Linked DNA regions of Homo sapiens: regions 1, 2, 3 and 4 are each linked to region 5. Evidence: promoter capture Hi-C in 16 types of primary human blood cells and fetal thymus (Javierre and others, 2016). All regions are on one chromosome and are shown on one strand. Each heading gives the region's core, a stretch centred on a gene start or on the middle of the fragment in contact. The rest is flanking DNA. Distances are from core to core; before and after follow the strand shown.

Evidence for each region. The method cuts DNA at HindIII sites, captures the fragments that hold promoters and counts their contacts. A CHiCAGO score of 5 or more calls a contact.
Region 1: a fragment that was not itself captured here is called in contact with the fragment with the promoter of TOMM20 in region 5 in 1 of 17 cell types (endothelial precursors); the score reaches 6.4 in endothelial precursors.
Region 2: a fragment that was not itself captured here is called in contact with the fragment with the promoter of TOMM20 in region 5 in 1 of 17 cell types (naive B cells); the score reaches 5.1 in naive B cells.
Region 3: a contact is called between a fragment that was not itself captured here and the fragment with the promoter of TOMM20 in region 5, in 1 of 17 cell types (endothelial precursors). The highest score is 5.1, in endothelial precursors.
Region 4: a contact is called between a fragment that was not itself captured here and the fragment with the promoter of TOMM20 in region 5, in 5 of 17 cell types (erythroblasts, activated CD4 T cells, naive CD8 T cells and 2 more). The highest score is 6.9, in erythroblasts.

The regions. Positions count from the first base shown.
Region 1 is chr1:235,488,773-235,491,472 of GRCh38, forward strand. B3GALNT2 (beta-1,3-N-acetylgalactosaminyltransferase 2) reads right to left here. Exons shown (of 12, transcript NM_152490.5): 3 at 396-496. Among named protein-coding and RNA genes, the nearest start is that of B3GALNT2, 14 kb to the right of the region's middle. RefSeq lists a silencer at 2,596-2,700. The HindIII fragment of the contact is 1,907 bases long and covers 359-2,265 here.
Region 2 is chr1:234,619,352-234,622,138 of GRCh38, forward strand. No RefSeq gene overlaps it. Among named protein-coding and RNA genes, the nearest start is that of LINC00184, 8.6 kb to the right of the region's middle. The HindIII fragment of the contact is 1,562 bases long and covers 705-2,266 here.
Region 3 is chr1:235,471,685-235,474,436 of GRCh38, forward strand. The region is part of intron 5 of B3GALNT2 (beta-1,3-N-acetylgalactosaminyltransferase 2); the gene reads right to left. Among named protein-coding and RNA genes, the nearest start is that of B3GALNT2, 31 kb to the right of the region's middle. The HindIII fragment of the contact is 1,975 bases long and covers 431-2,405 here.
Region 4 is chr1:235,408,642-235,411,359 of GRCh38, forward strand. All of the region lies in intron 3 of TBCE (tubulin folding cofactor E), which reads left to right. Among named protein-coding and RNA genes, the nearest start is that of TBCE, 43 kb to the left of the region's middle. The HindIII fragment of the contact is 1,859 bases long and covers 455-2,313 here.
Region 5 is chr1:235,127,528-235,130,300 of GRCh38, forward strand. TOMM20 (translocase of outer mitochondrial membrane 20) reads right to left here and starts at 1,310. Exons shown (of 5, transcript NM_014765.3): 1 at 1,068-1,310. The coding sequence starts at 1,188. It overlaps SNORA14B (small nucleolar RNA, H/ACA box 14B), which reads right to left and starts at 410; the gene lies at 276-410. LOC105379283 (a long non-coding RNA gene) reads right to left here and starts at 674. Exons shown (of 2, transcript XR_949295.4): 1 at 102-674. RefSeq lists enhancers at 1,038-1,257, 1,488-1,587. The HindIII fragment of the contact is 4,902 bases long and covers 1-2,773 here.

The sequences.
Region 1 (2,700 bases), core at 62-2,561, 360 kb after region 5:
CCAGGGCATGGTGGCTCATGCCTGCAATCCCAGTGCTTTGGGATGCTGAGGCTGGTGGATCCCTTGAGGGTAAGAATTCAAGATCAGCCCAGACAAGACAGCGAGACCTCAACTCTACAAAAAATTTAAAAAATTAGCCAGTTTTCGTGGCATGTGCCTGTAGTCCTAGCAGGGTGGTGAGGTAGGAGGATCGCTTGAGCCCCGGAGTTTGAGGTTATAGTGAGCCATGACTATGCCACTGCACGCCAGCCTAGGCGACAGAGCAAGACCCTGTCTCTAAAACACATAATAAAATAAAATAATAAAAAATAAAAACAGACTCCATACTATTAAGCTTAGCAACTTTTACTCAACATCAAGCTTGTGTATGGCAGTCAAGGGAAAAGATGACTTACCTGGATTTGTGATGTTGAGTAGTTTACAGGAATAAGGATCCTCCCTGTCTTCCACAGGCACTTCACAGCCATGAGCACCTATTATGAACTTCACAAGCACACTGAGAGATGTGTTGGCATTAACATCAGTTACTGATCTTCACCTCGCACATGCACGTTTCCTCATGCCCATTTCAGAGCTTTTACTTTGAGACACAAGTGTTTATGAGGATTAATTCTCTACCTTTATTCTTCTAGTCAGACAAAATGGGGGAACAAGTAAACTGAAAGTTGCTAACTACCAAGTTACTTATGCATGAGTCCTTATTGCAATGCTATATTAAAGCAAGTATGAATATGTCTGGCCTCGCTACAAGCAAATGTTCATATCATTTAAAAGCAAACTATAGTAAAGTCAGTTCTCATGCCCATACCTAAAAACATATCTATATCTAAAATTTTCCTTTGCTGCCTTCTTCTATTTCAGAAAGTGTTCCTTTTGCTCAAGATTAGGTCTTTCCATCCAAGAGGAAATCCCCTTCTCTCCTAGACCTTGCTTCACTGGTTACCCCTGTAACTAGTGACTCCTTCCCTCCACATTACAAACATGATAAAGTCCTGACTCTAATTATTCTCTTCACCTTCCATCCTTCCTTGCCACCACACTTTACACTGAGGTCCTACAAAGAAATTAAAACTGCAGCCTGTTTCTTACTTCCCACTCATTTTATAAAACAAGAGTTTTAGCTTTAATATCACCACCTCCACTGAGATTCCACTAATGTAACCAATGAGCTGCTGCTAAATCAATAGACACTCTTGAACTCTTACCTTCCTGGTTTCTCTACGGCTTAATACTGCCCAGCTCCCTAAAATGCTCTCTTCCCTTCCTTCTGTGGCCTGCTCAGTCATCTTCACTGCCTCTTGTTCCCCAGCTTGTCCACTGAGAGTGGTATTAGTCTAGGGCTCTGCCTTTGGGTCTTTTCTCAATCTACTCATTTTTTTTACTTCCTCTCCCTAAACAATATTATTTATTCTCATGGCTTCAAATAGCATGGGAATGATTCCTGAATTAGTAACTCTAGTTGTTTTCTTTTTTTTTGAGACAGAGTCTCGCTCTGTCACCCAGGCTGGAATACAACAGTGTAATCTTGGCTCTTTGCAGTCTCCACCTTTCAGGTTCAAGTGATTCTCCTGCCTCAGCCTCCTAAGTGGCTGGGATTACAGGCGTGTGCCACCACGCCTGGCTAATTTTTGTATTTTTAGTAGAGACGGGATTTCACCATGTTGGCCAGGCTGGTCTCGAACTCTTGGCGTCAAGTGATCTGCCTGCCTTGGCCTCCCAAAGTGCTGGGATTACAGGTGTGAGCCACTGTGTCCGGACCTGAATTAGTAACTCTAGTTTAGACCCATGTAAAGGACCTGTAAATTCACTGGACATCTTCACCCAGATAACCCACAGACAGCTGTGTGCTAAAGCCTGCTACTACTGGCTTCTGGGAGCCAACTGTCAACTTTTCAGAAATTTTGTGAGACGGTTATTAAACATAGCCTTTATTTAAAATTAAATTATATAATCTTATAATATATATTAAAATCAAAGGAAATACTCAAATTAATCACTTAATGTTTTACTACATTTTACTATTATGTTCTTGAGATCATTTATATTTATTACATCTACATGGTGGAAATAGTATATATGGCATGCTACTGCTTATCTTTCCCCCACTCTGTGTTCAGTGATGTCACATTAGTCACTTGAATTGGCCATAGTGGAAATATTCACACCCTAGAAACTGGCAAATAATACAAATAAGGGTTTGGTTTATTGTTTTGTTGACTGTCTAGACTTAAGAAAGTATAGAGAAAATGTTGATAATGCAAATTAAGCTTAATGTGATGTGTCTATCTATAGCCACTACAGAGTGAATAGTTAAAAAAAAAAAAAAAAGTCAAGGAAGATACGATTCCAGTGTTCCAAAACTATTACCTGATACAGCATAGAAGTCACTGACTTTATTAAGTGTAAAGCTGACATATCTTAGTTGTCACTTTAGTCCTCACCTCACTGTTTAACTTAAAAGAAAGACTTTTGTCACAACTACACTCTTTTGTTAACTGCAACCATAAGTTGGTCATAGATAGGAGAGTCTGACAAACAACAAAAGCGTTCTATGAGAATCAACTGGTTTCATGGAATTTACGATAAACAGTATTGTATAGGTTATTATCTGTCAATTACAGGCTGTATATACTTTATGTCAATAAAATTTATAATAAACATGTATGTACATATAAGCATCATTTTTCCCAGAGAGCCAGT
Region 2 (2,787 bases), core at 236-2,735, 510 kb before region 5:
CCCAAACAAAGGTAGCTGACTTCAAACCCTGTCTACATTTGCCTTATTATAGACCATGTGTTAGTAGATGTTGTAATATTTTTTATGAACCAGTAGGATTCTCAGAATGCTTCAAAACAGGCATGATATTGGGTGATGATTTTATTTTAAGTCTCATCTCGATTTAATTTTGTGAGAATTTTTTAAAATTGTCTGTTTTATTGAGAAATTGCTCAGAGATCATATACAATGAGAAACTCGGCTAGAAGAAGATAAACAAAACAAGTATAACAGAGACAACGTTCTTTTAAAACATTTCATTTTGCAGACCAATAATAAAACTTGTAAATCTTTTAAAAATACTTTTCTTATGGTGTATAAATTCTGATATTTTACTTGAAGCTAATAAAGCCACCATAGAGAAGAAAGTTAATTTTTTCTTCTTTAAGCTTTCCATAGGTAGTATAATTTAAATAATTCTGTGGTACAGTTTCAACACCTCAGATTGAGCACTTTTGTTTACGAAGTAAGAACAGTAATCCTCATGTAAAAAGGTGGTATTGCTACCCTAGACAGCAGATGGTGTTATTAAATACACAGGCAAAGTCTAAGGTCATAAGGAACTAACAATTAACCAGAAATACGATCTGTCACAGTCGTTTAATGGGTAACCTAACAGATATATACCGCTTGTATTCTTCTGAGTGGTGGGAGGTAAATAGTCAAGCTTCAGAGCAGTTGCACAATCGTTTAGAAATATTGTAATTATATTCTTATTTAAGCATTTAGGGAAACCAACAAGCGAGAAAGAAAGTGAAAATCAGTGTGATTTCCTCATAATACTGTGTCCTGTTAATCTGCTTTGAAAAATACTTTACAAATTCAGACAGCACAATTTCATAGCTATCCCTGAATCTAACTCGTCTCCCCAAACTAGGAATGTCAAAATTTTGAATTTTTTACTGCCAGTCTCAGTTGTTCTAAGATCTCTTTACATTATCATAGGTATAATTTTTGCCCCTGAAGTTTTCGTCGTGTGAAGGTAAAAAATTGGAGCATACACAACAGCAAATGGAAGCAGGGTGGCAGGAGACAGCTGGGAAACTGTAGTGGGGAGGAGAGGCAGTCAGCTGGTGGGGTGGACCGTAGGAAGAGAATGGTCTCACCAGTAAGGAATGGGTGGCACTATTAAAATCTGGATGTGGGCTCAATTTCTATTGTAAATCAAATATAAATCTATCACTAAAATAGGAGCTGGATACACAGTGCCCAAGTCCTCGTGAGAGTTTCCCAAGAAGGGTTTACCATGGAGAATGTGTCATCAGTTCCTTTTCAGTTAGGGCTTTTGAGGATGAGGAACTGAATCCTAAATTCACCCAAAGGAAAAATGGCCAACAGGGCAGCAACTAAGCCTGGATCACAAAGAACAAACTGCTTGGTTAGAATTTGGAAGAGTGGCTGGGTGCAGTAGTAATATAATCCCAGCACTCTGGGAGGCTGAGGCGGGAGGATCACTGGAGGCCAGGAGTTTGAGACTGGCCTGGGCAACATAGCAAGACCCCCATCTCTACAAAAAAAATACAAAAATCAAGGCCAGGTAGAGTGGCTTACACCTGCAATCCCAGGACTTTGGGAGGCTGGGGTCTCTACCAAAAAATTAAAAATTAGCCAGGTGTGGTGGTAGTGCATACCTGTAGTCCCAGCTACTAAGCAGGCTGAGGCAGGTGGATTGCTTGAGCCCAGGAGGTTGATGCTACAGTGATCCATGAACCATGATCACGCCACTGCACTCCAGCCTGGGGAACAAAGCGAGACCCAGTCTCTAAAAAAAAAAAAAAAAAAAAAAAAAAAGTTTGGAAGAGTGAACCTTGTCCCATAGGCAAATAACTACGAAGCATACCCAAGAGTCATGACTCTAGCCATTGTGTCAACCAATTGTAAAAACAGCATCTGGAAAAGCAAAAACATCCTCAGTGCCCCAGGTGAATAGAAGATGAACAATGAAAAGCAAGGTTCAGAGGTCACTGGCTGATCAGGCTAAAAAAGTGGGTAGATTCCAATCTTCGGACAAAAACTATTCTTAAAAGACAAAAAGTTATTCAGTTTCCTTGCTGTTGGATTTGGTGAGGATGTCTGAGTCCCAGAAAATGCATACTAATAAGGACTTTTTTCTTATACAGTTTCATGCATTTATATATGTTTATTTAAATTTCTCTAAATTTAATTTGAATAAGGCAGGCAACAGCATCTCAGGGCACAGACTCATAACTGGAGACCTTCATCCACAAGCTTAGCTAGCTAGATTTTCCGTGTGGCCAGGACGCCTGCTGAAACTTCCAGCAGTCCTCAGAAAAACTGATGAGATACCCTTGGGCTGAATGAGTAAGAACTTTCTGGAGAGTGGAAGACTGGTGAAAGTCCAGCTGGAAAAACATATGGCAGCAGAGGCGGAAAGAGTGCTTTATGACCGGGAGCTTTATAAAAAAAATGTCTGAAGGCTCAAGGCAGCCGTTACAACCTAAGATCCTACTAAGCATGATGGATGTTTTTACTTCTAGGATTGTCTCCAATTTACCTGGACCACAGCCAGCACCGTATCCTCAGGCACCCCATGGGACAGTACATACAGAAGAACAGCATCACACCACATCCTATCACCAAGGCCAGGATTCTGTGCCTCTGCCCCCCTCCCCACCTCCTTGAAACGGGGGAAGTAGGGGGAAGAGTCAATTCTTCTTGGAGCACATGAGATGGTAGCTTGCTGTGTTGTCCTGAAAGAAAACAAAGTTTGTAAATCACTGTAGATAG
Region 3 (2,752 bases), core at 168-2,667, 340 kb after region 5:
CAGAGCCTCGCTCTGCCACCCAGGCTGGAGTGCAATGGTGCGATCATGGCTCACTGCAACCTTCACTCTCCAGGTTTAAGCGATTCTCTTGCTTCAGCCTCCCGCGTAGCTGGGATTACAGGCGCTCACTATCACGCCCGGTTAATTTTTGGATATTTAGTAGAGACAGGGTTTCGCCATGTTGGCCAGGCTGGTCTGGAACTCCTGACCTCAAGTGATCTGCCCACCCTGGCCTCCCAAAGTGCTGGGATTACAGGCATGAGCCACGGCGCCCTGCCTGAATTTAAAAAAAAAAAAAAAAGATTGGCTTAGTTGGATTTCTGATTCCTAGTGATGTTTATGAATTGCATGTTCTCTTCTGAGGACTGCCTTATCATGCTGCTTTGCCATCTGCCCTCTGAGTTTTCTATTTTTCTTGTTCATCTATGCAAGCTTTTAATAAAGTAATTATCTTAATCCTGTGCACATTTTATATGCTAAAATAGTTTTTCATTTGCTACTTAATGCTATTTTTGAAATTCAGAAGTCCATAAATTTCACCTTGGCAAATCTGACAAACTTTTCCTTTGTGATTATTACTATTAAATTCTGAGCTGAGAGAGCTATGCCCCCCTGTCCCAAGGTCTGATATATATTGAAATCTTAATGTCTTCTAATTTCTCCATGATCCCATTTTTAATTCTGTGCACAGCTGGCTCCTTAGTCCTGCTCAGGTCTCAGCTCCACTACCTTCTCCTCCGAGAGGCTTTCTCCAGATGTCCTCCAGAAGGCTCCAACTCCCAACTTCTATCACATCAACCTGTTTTATCTTATTAATACCATTTATCACTCTGATATTTCTTATTTTATTTTATTATTAAACTAACTGCCTCTACTAGAAGACAAACACCTTGAGAACAGGAAGGAGCTTGCCTGATCAACCACTGCATCCCCAGCATCGAGCCTGGCCTGACATGACTGACAACTCAAAATGTTTGCTGAATAAATAATGTTGAACTAAAAATCAACCAGAATTGACTATAGTATAGAGGATTAAATGAAAGATATACCTCTAATACTCTAAAAACTTTCATGTTAAAATGAAGGGATAAAGTACTTTACAATAATGTCTCATTTTAGCCAGCAGTATAGGGAAACCATACAAAATTCAATTTGATAAGCTAGGTCAGTGGTTTATAAACATTTTTTTCCCTCTGCACAGAGTGATATAAACTTTTTCTTTTTTTTTATTTTTATTTTTTTGAGACGGAGTCTCACTCTGTAGCCCAGGCTGGAGTGCAGTGGCGTGATCTCTGCTCACTGCAAACCCCACCTCCCAGGTCCTGGTTCAAGTGATTCTCCTGCCTCAGCCTCCCAAGTAGCTGGGATTACAGGAATGTGCCACCATGCCTAGCTAATTTTTGTATTTTCAGTAGAGATGGGGTTTCACCATGTTGGCCAGGCTGGTCTTGAACTCCTGACCTAGTGATCTGCCTGCCTCAGCCTCCCAAAGTGCTAGGATTACGGGCGTGAGCCACCGCCCAACCTTTCCCTTCCTTTCTTTCCTTTTTTAAAATAAATAATATTTTTTTCCTCCTCCAAAACAGATAAAAATATTCCAAGAGTCCGGATTCCTCAGGCAGTTTATCGCTCTGTATTCAGCTAATGTATTTTCTTCTAAAACTTTAATAGTGATAGAGTTTGGAAGGATTGATAGCATATATACTTAGGATAAGGAACTGATAGGACTTGGTGAGTACCTGGACATGAGAGTGACGATAACTCTCATGATTCTGGTTTAGGTGACTTGAGGAAAAGGAGATGGTTACCCAAGATTAAAAATACAGGCGATGAGAACAGATGGGATGGAGACAATGTTACCATTAGAATGCCCATGGGACATTCAAGTGGAGAAGTTCAGGAGGCAACTCAAAGCATGTCTGGAGTTCACAAGAGATGCTGGGGCTGTAATTATAGATTTAACAGCCTTCAGCATACAGGCAGTAATGAATGAAATTGCCTGGGAAGAATGAGTAAAATAAAACAGAAGGCTAGGTAGCAAATCCTAATGATTAATATTTAAGAGGAAAGCAAAAAGGAAATAATGAATCATACCAAAAGTAAAAACTATAGTGACCAGATAAAAATCCTCACCTTGAAACTACAAATCTAGAAAAGATGATGATAAAACGAGTAATTCTCTGTACTGTCCATTCAATTGACATGACATGTGACATGCTATTTCACAGTGGGTCCTTCCTGGCACCCAACTCCATTTTGTCTGTGACTAGGCTATGATACAACAAACAAATTCAATGAATAATTGAATGTGTTACCAGAAAAATTCCCTAGTCCTCCCAAATCATCTTGACTTACTCATGGAACTTAAATAACCCATCAGCTGTTTTGTTACTAAGCAAGGAAGAAGCTTTATCTTCCACCTATCTCCTAAACCTGTTTCTGCTCCACAACACAGTTTAATTTCTATTCCTCACCTCTGCTCTCATACACCTACTTTTTATTCTGATGTAAGGCAATTATGAAGCCAGGTATCTCTTAAGATCCAAAACAACTTGTTTATGGCAATTCCCTTACTAAGATCATAAAAACCAAAATAAAAGTTGGGAAAAAATAGCATGATACAGGTTGGAAAAATGAGATATCATATCTATCTCTCCCATAACATAAGCAAGCTGTCTGTAACTCCTTTCACGCATCAACTCTTTTCCATAAAGCTTCTAATTTCTCATCCAAACAACAGAGTAGCTTAAAT
Region 4 (2,718 bases), core at 134-2,633, 280 kb after region 5:
TTATCTACTGTACTGCTTTACTCACAGGAAAACAACCTCTCTGGGTCAGCTCTTTAGATGTTACAGCGCTGAACACTGCACGAAAGCTGAGTTCTCCTCTCCTGATGAACAGCTAGTTATGCAACCTTGCTGAACACTAAACATTCCTGAAACAAACAGGGTATCAAGATCAACAGTATTTATTAGAAACTCCCCAGAGACCTGGCCTTTTCCAGTAGCTTGTATCCAAAGCTCCAACAAGAAAGAAGCTTACTGTGGAAGTCTGGGAGTCTGTTGGGGACCCTTTACCTTTGTGTAGTGTTGCCAGATTCAGCAAACAAAAATACCAAATGCATAGTGAACTTTGGATTTCAGATAAACAGCCAATCTTTTTTTTTTTTTTTTTTAGTATAAGTATGAGACATGCATGGGGGCATACTTACTTAAAAATGATTTGCTGTTTATCTGAAATACAAGCTTAACTGAGCATCTTCGATTCTATGTGGCAGTCCTGATGGGGACATAGGACAGAATGAATCTTGATAACTGGGTTTTATGAGCACATGCTGTTTCCACAAGGGCCATGGGTCAGGATGATGATTTTACCAGCAGCATGTGTAATTGGTAGGCAGAAGGAGGAAGGAACCTGAACAGGCCAAATGCTTCCAAGAGAAACGTTTTTGGACACCCCTCCCTGTATTCTCCTCCTCACCAACATTTTTCTCTTTAGACATGGTTTGGAATTTCAGTGTTTGGATACAGTTTCTTAATATATTAATGTAGAATCTCAGTGGAGTCTATGTAAATTATTACAGTTTACCTCTTGGAGATTTGTTGTTATTGATGGGCACCCATTCAGCTAGGGTTTTTCACTATTTGTTGAGGCTGTTTTGTTTTCTGAGAAACCTGCTGGAAATGTTCCAGAAAATATTGATCTTTAGTGTTAGTCTTTGATCTGTAAAGGGCATAGCATCCGTTTTGCAACTACCTAACAACATTCCTAACTCTCCTTTCATCTGCCTGCAACTAAACTCAACAGTAATAAAGATCTGTTCATGACTTCTTGTTTTTTTACCATGGTTTTAAAACTTGTTTATTACCACTGTTTTAAAAAGTGTAGATTTAGGGCCTGGCGCCGTGGCTCATGCCTGTAATCCCAGCACTTTGGGAAGCCGAGGTGGGCGGATCACTTGAGGTCAGGAGTTCGAGACCATCCTATCTAACACAGTGAAACCCCGTCTCTACTAAAAATACAAAAAATTAGCCAGGCGTGGTGGCGGGTGCTTGTAGTTCCAGCTACTTGGGAGGCTGAGGCAGGAGAATGGCGTGAACCCGGGAGTTGGAGATTGCAGTGAACCGAGATCGTGCCACTGCACTCCAGCCTGCGTGACAGAGTGAGACTCTGTCTCAAACAAAAACAAAAACAAAAAAAACAGAAACAAAAATTAGCCGGGCGTGGTGTTGCACGCCTGTAATCCCAGCTACTCAGGAGGCTGAGGCAGGAGAATTGCTTCAACCCGGGAGGCTGAGGCAGGAGAATTGCTTCAACCAGGGAGGCTGAGGTTGCAGTGAGCCAAGATCACCCCACTGCACTCCAGCCTGGGCAACAGAGGGAGACTCTATCTCCAAAAAAAATTATAATAAAGGAATAACGAATGGCTACTCCATAGGCAGAACAGTCCCGAGGACTGCTGGGTGCCCATTTTTATGGTTATTTCTTGAGTATATGCTAAACAAGGGGTGGATTATTCATGCCTCCCCTTTTAAGACCATGTAGGGTAATTTCCTGACGTTGCCATGGCATTTGTAAACTGTCATGGTGCTGGTGGGAGTGTAGCAGTGAGGATGACCAGAGGTCACTCTCATCTCCATCTTGGTTTTGGTGGGTTTTAGCCAGCTTCTTTACTGCATGCTGTTTCATCAGCAAGGTCTTTAATGACCTGTATCTTGTACCGACCTCCTAGTTCATCCTGAGACTTAGAATGCCTAACAGTCTGGAATGCAGCCTGGTAGGTCTCAGCCTTATTTTACCCAGCTCCTATTCAAGATGGAGTTGCTCTGGTTCAAACGTCTCTGACATATTTCCCCCCTCCCTTTTACGAGAGAACCCTTAATCCTAAGGGCTGCAGAGGGATGAAGATCCACTTTCTGTAACTTCTTTATGCTGAACAGGGGTGATGATATTCCTGCCTAACTGTTGGGTCTCTTGCATTCAGGGTAGAGGAGCTCAGTTCGAAAGCGTTGGTATGGCGAAGGCCATTCATAACTCTTGAGTTCCGACAAAAGGTATATCTGGAAGATTAATAAGTGTTCAGTTTAAGAAAACATTTAGTAAGCTTATCCTGCATTCCTACACAAAGAGTATAATCACAGCAATATATTCCACAACAGTAAAATAAAAAAAATAAAATTATCCCAAGTAAACTGAATTAGAAAGTTTTCCATGAACTGGGCAATTGTTTAAATCAAGCTAATAAGGAGTCACTAGCCAATTCCAATATGTGCCCAGAATTAGAATAACATTACCCATCACTCTTGTTTCTTCTGAGCAGCAGCCAGAGATCACTGGTTGGTTCACAGGAATAAGTGGGATCATTCTCTTGTCTTCCATAGGTCTGTGGGACACAGGTCAGGAACTGTGTAGACAAGGAGTGAGGCCAGTTTTCCCAAGCGGCTTTTATTGGCTCTATAAGTCAAGTTTGATTCCATAAAGGAACACACACCATTCCAGTTGAAGCC
Region 5 (2,773 bases), core at 60-2,559:
AACACTTGAAATGACTTAGTATAGCTGAATTAAACCGTAACCACTGTTACTTAAGTAAACAATAATCCCTTCTTTGTACCCCTTGGGCTTTAGTAACTTACGTATCAATTTTAATTCCAAAAACTAATTTGGCTGAACAACCAAGATAAGCCAAAAAATATTTCTTATTGCAACAAATTTGCTCTTCAATGATGCGAATGAAGATTCTCCGAAAATTCAAGGTGGATCACAACGGTTTTCATGACACGATTCCCCTCTGGTAGACCTCTCTTAAAAGATGTCGCAGGTATGAAATAAGACTGAGCCACGGGAGAAGCGCAGCCCTTTGGACTCCCCTGCAATTTCTATAGCATTCACTCATATCTTGGAAGCACTTAGAACGAAGCTACCAAGAGGGTTTAAGAATGCAGCAATGAGCCAGGCGGATCATCTGAGGTCAGGAGTTCGAGACTAGCCTGACCAACACGGTGAAACCCCGTCTCTACTAAACACAAAAAATCACCGGGCGTGGTGACGCCCGACTGTAATCCCAGCTACTGGGGAGACTGAGGCAGGAGAAGCGCTTGAACTCGGGAGGCGGAGGTTGCAGTGAGCCGAGATCGCGCCACTGCACTACAGCCTGGGCGACAGAGCGAGATTCCGTCTCAAAAAAAAGAATGCAACAATGATACTGCACTGAGCATGCGGATTTAGCCTCAGACTAAAATTTGCGACAAAAATGCACGACTTTTTAGTTAAGAGTAGAGGTTTAAAAAGATGAACGACAAAAAAAGAGACAACCTCCTCCCCAGGCCACACACACCCGAGATTGCAACAGAAATCAAGAGTGCATTTGCACGGCTAAAGTGTCTGGGGAAAACAAAACGGGAAAAATCCTTCCTCCAAAATGGAATTCCTACGGGGCACTAGAGCCCCCGGAGCGGCGCAGCCAGCGCCATCGCCTATTGAGGGCCGCACCACGCGGTCGCCCTGCGCGGCCCACAGGCTGGTGGGAGGCAATGACCCCTCCTGTGAAGGGCGGCGGCCGAAGGCAGCAAGCCTGGCCAGGGGAGAGAGGACCCACTCACGTTCTCGAAGCCTGTTCTTGAAGTTGGGGTCACTTCGTCTTTTGCGGTCGAAGTAGATGCAGTACCCAATGAAAAGGGCCCCGCATACACCGGCGGCGATGGCGCTGTTCCGACCCACCATCTTCTCTACAACGCTGAGCGTGGACGGTGGCGGCAGGGACCGCGAAGGAGCGGTGGGCCACGAACCCTCAGAGCGGTCGGCGCAGCTCACACCCGACGGCCGCGGGCCAGGAACACAGAAAGGCCGAGCACACGCCACTTCCGGTCCCAGTCAACTAAGGGCCTCGAGGTCGTCCGCGGCAGAGCCTGAGCAGAGGCCCAGAGCGCGGCTCCTGCGCCTGCGCAGTGGGCGAAGCCGGCGTTTCCCCTGCGCCGCTGGGTGTACGCACTGGAGTCGGGAATTTGCACGTGACCACGGACTTTTTTTCATATCCGCCGACCATGCTGTAACGAGGCGTACGCGTTACTGGCGTGCACGTACTCAGAAGACTAGCTGACAGCCTTGTTTGTGGCAGACAGAGATGCAGGGTCCCAGACTGCGAATGCTTCATCTTGTCTAACACAGGCAGCCTGTGACTTGTTTGAATTAAACTGTACTTTCTTTTCAGGTTGCCACAATCCATTGTGCGTAGTGGTTCCATTTCAAAAGAATGTTACAGGATAGCCTCATTTTATGATAACTGGAATAAAATTAAATGGAGTAATTTCTTGAAAAATATACACAATTGAAGAAAAAATAGAAAACGTGAATTGTTTTATAGCCACACGAAAACATACACATGATCAGGCCAGGCGCGGTGGCTCACGCCTGTAATCTCAACACTTTGGGAGGCCGAGGCAGGCGGATCACTTAAGGCCAGGAGTTTGAGACCAGCCTGGCCAACATAGTGAAACCCTGTCTCTACTAAAAATACAAAAATTAGCTGGCCATGGTGGCCGGGGCCTGTAATCCCAGCTACTCTGGAGGCTGAGGCGGGAGAATCGCTTGAACCAGGAGGCAGAGGTTGCAGTGAGCCAAGATCGAGCCACTGCACTCCAGCCTGAGTGACAGATCAGGAGTCCGTCTCAAAAAAACAAAATATATATATATATGATCTAACTTAAGATATTGACAAGGAAAATCGTGGGCAGAAAGCAGGCATTAAACAGACACTGTAAGTTGAGGGGTATCGAAGTCAAGCATCAGTGTCAAGAGACATTGGAACCAGAGCTACCTTACCTTGAATAGGGGCTGGGTAAAATGAGGCTGAGACCTATTGGGGCACATTCCCAGGAAGTTTGGCATTCTTGGTCACAGGATATTTACAGGGAAGGGAACAAGTTAATAATGTTTACCTAACAGACCCAGGAAATGTCCTGATGTCCTGATATCTTAAGAACAAAAGCATTCTTAGTTTAATTTTCCCTTTAAAGATAATATTGATCCTTGCAGAAGACAGTAGTTACACAGGATTAACAGTCCTTTGACAAAGACCAGGCAGTGTCTCACACCTGTAATCCCAGCACTTTGGGAGGCCCAGATGGGCGGATAGCTTGAGCCCAAGAGTTCAACACCAGCCTGGGCAACATGGTGAGACCCTGTCTCCACAAAAAAATTAAAAACTTAGCCAGGCGTGGTGGCACACACCTGTGGTCCCAACTACATGGGGAATGATGCGGAAGTATCCCTTAATCCCAGGAGGTTGAGGCTGCAGTTGAGTTATGAT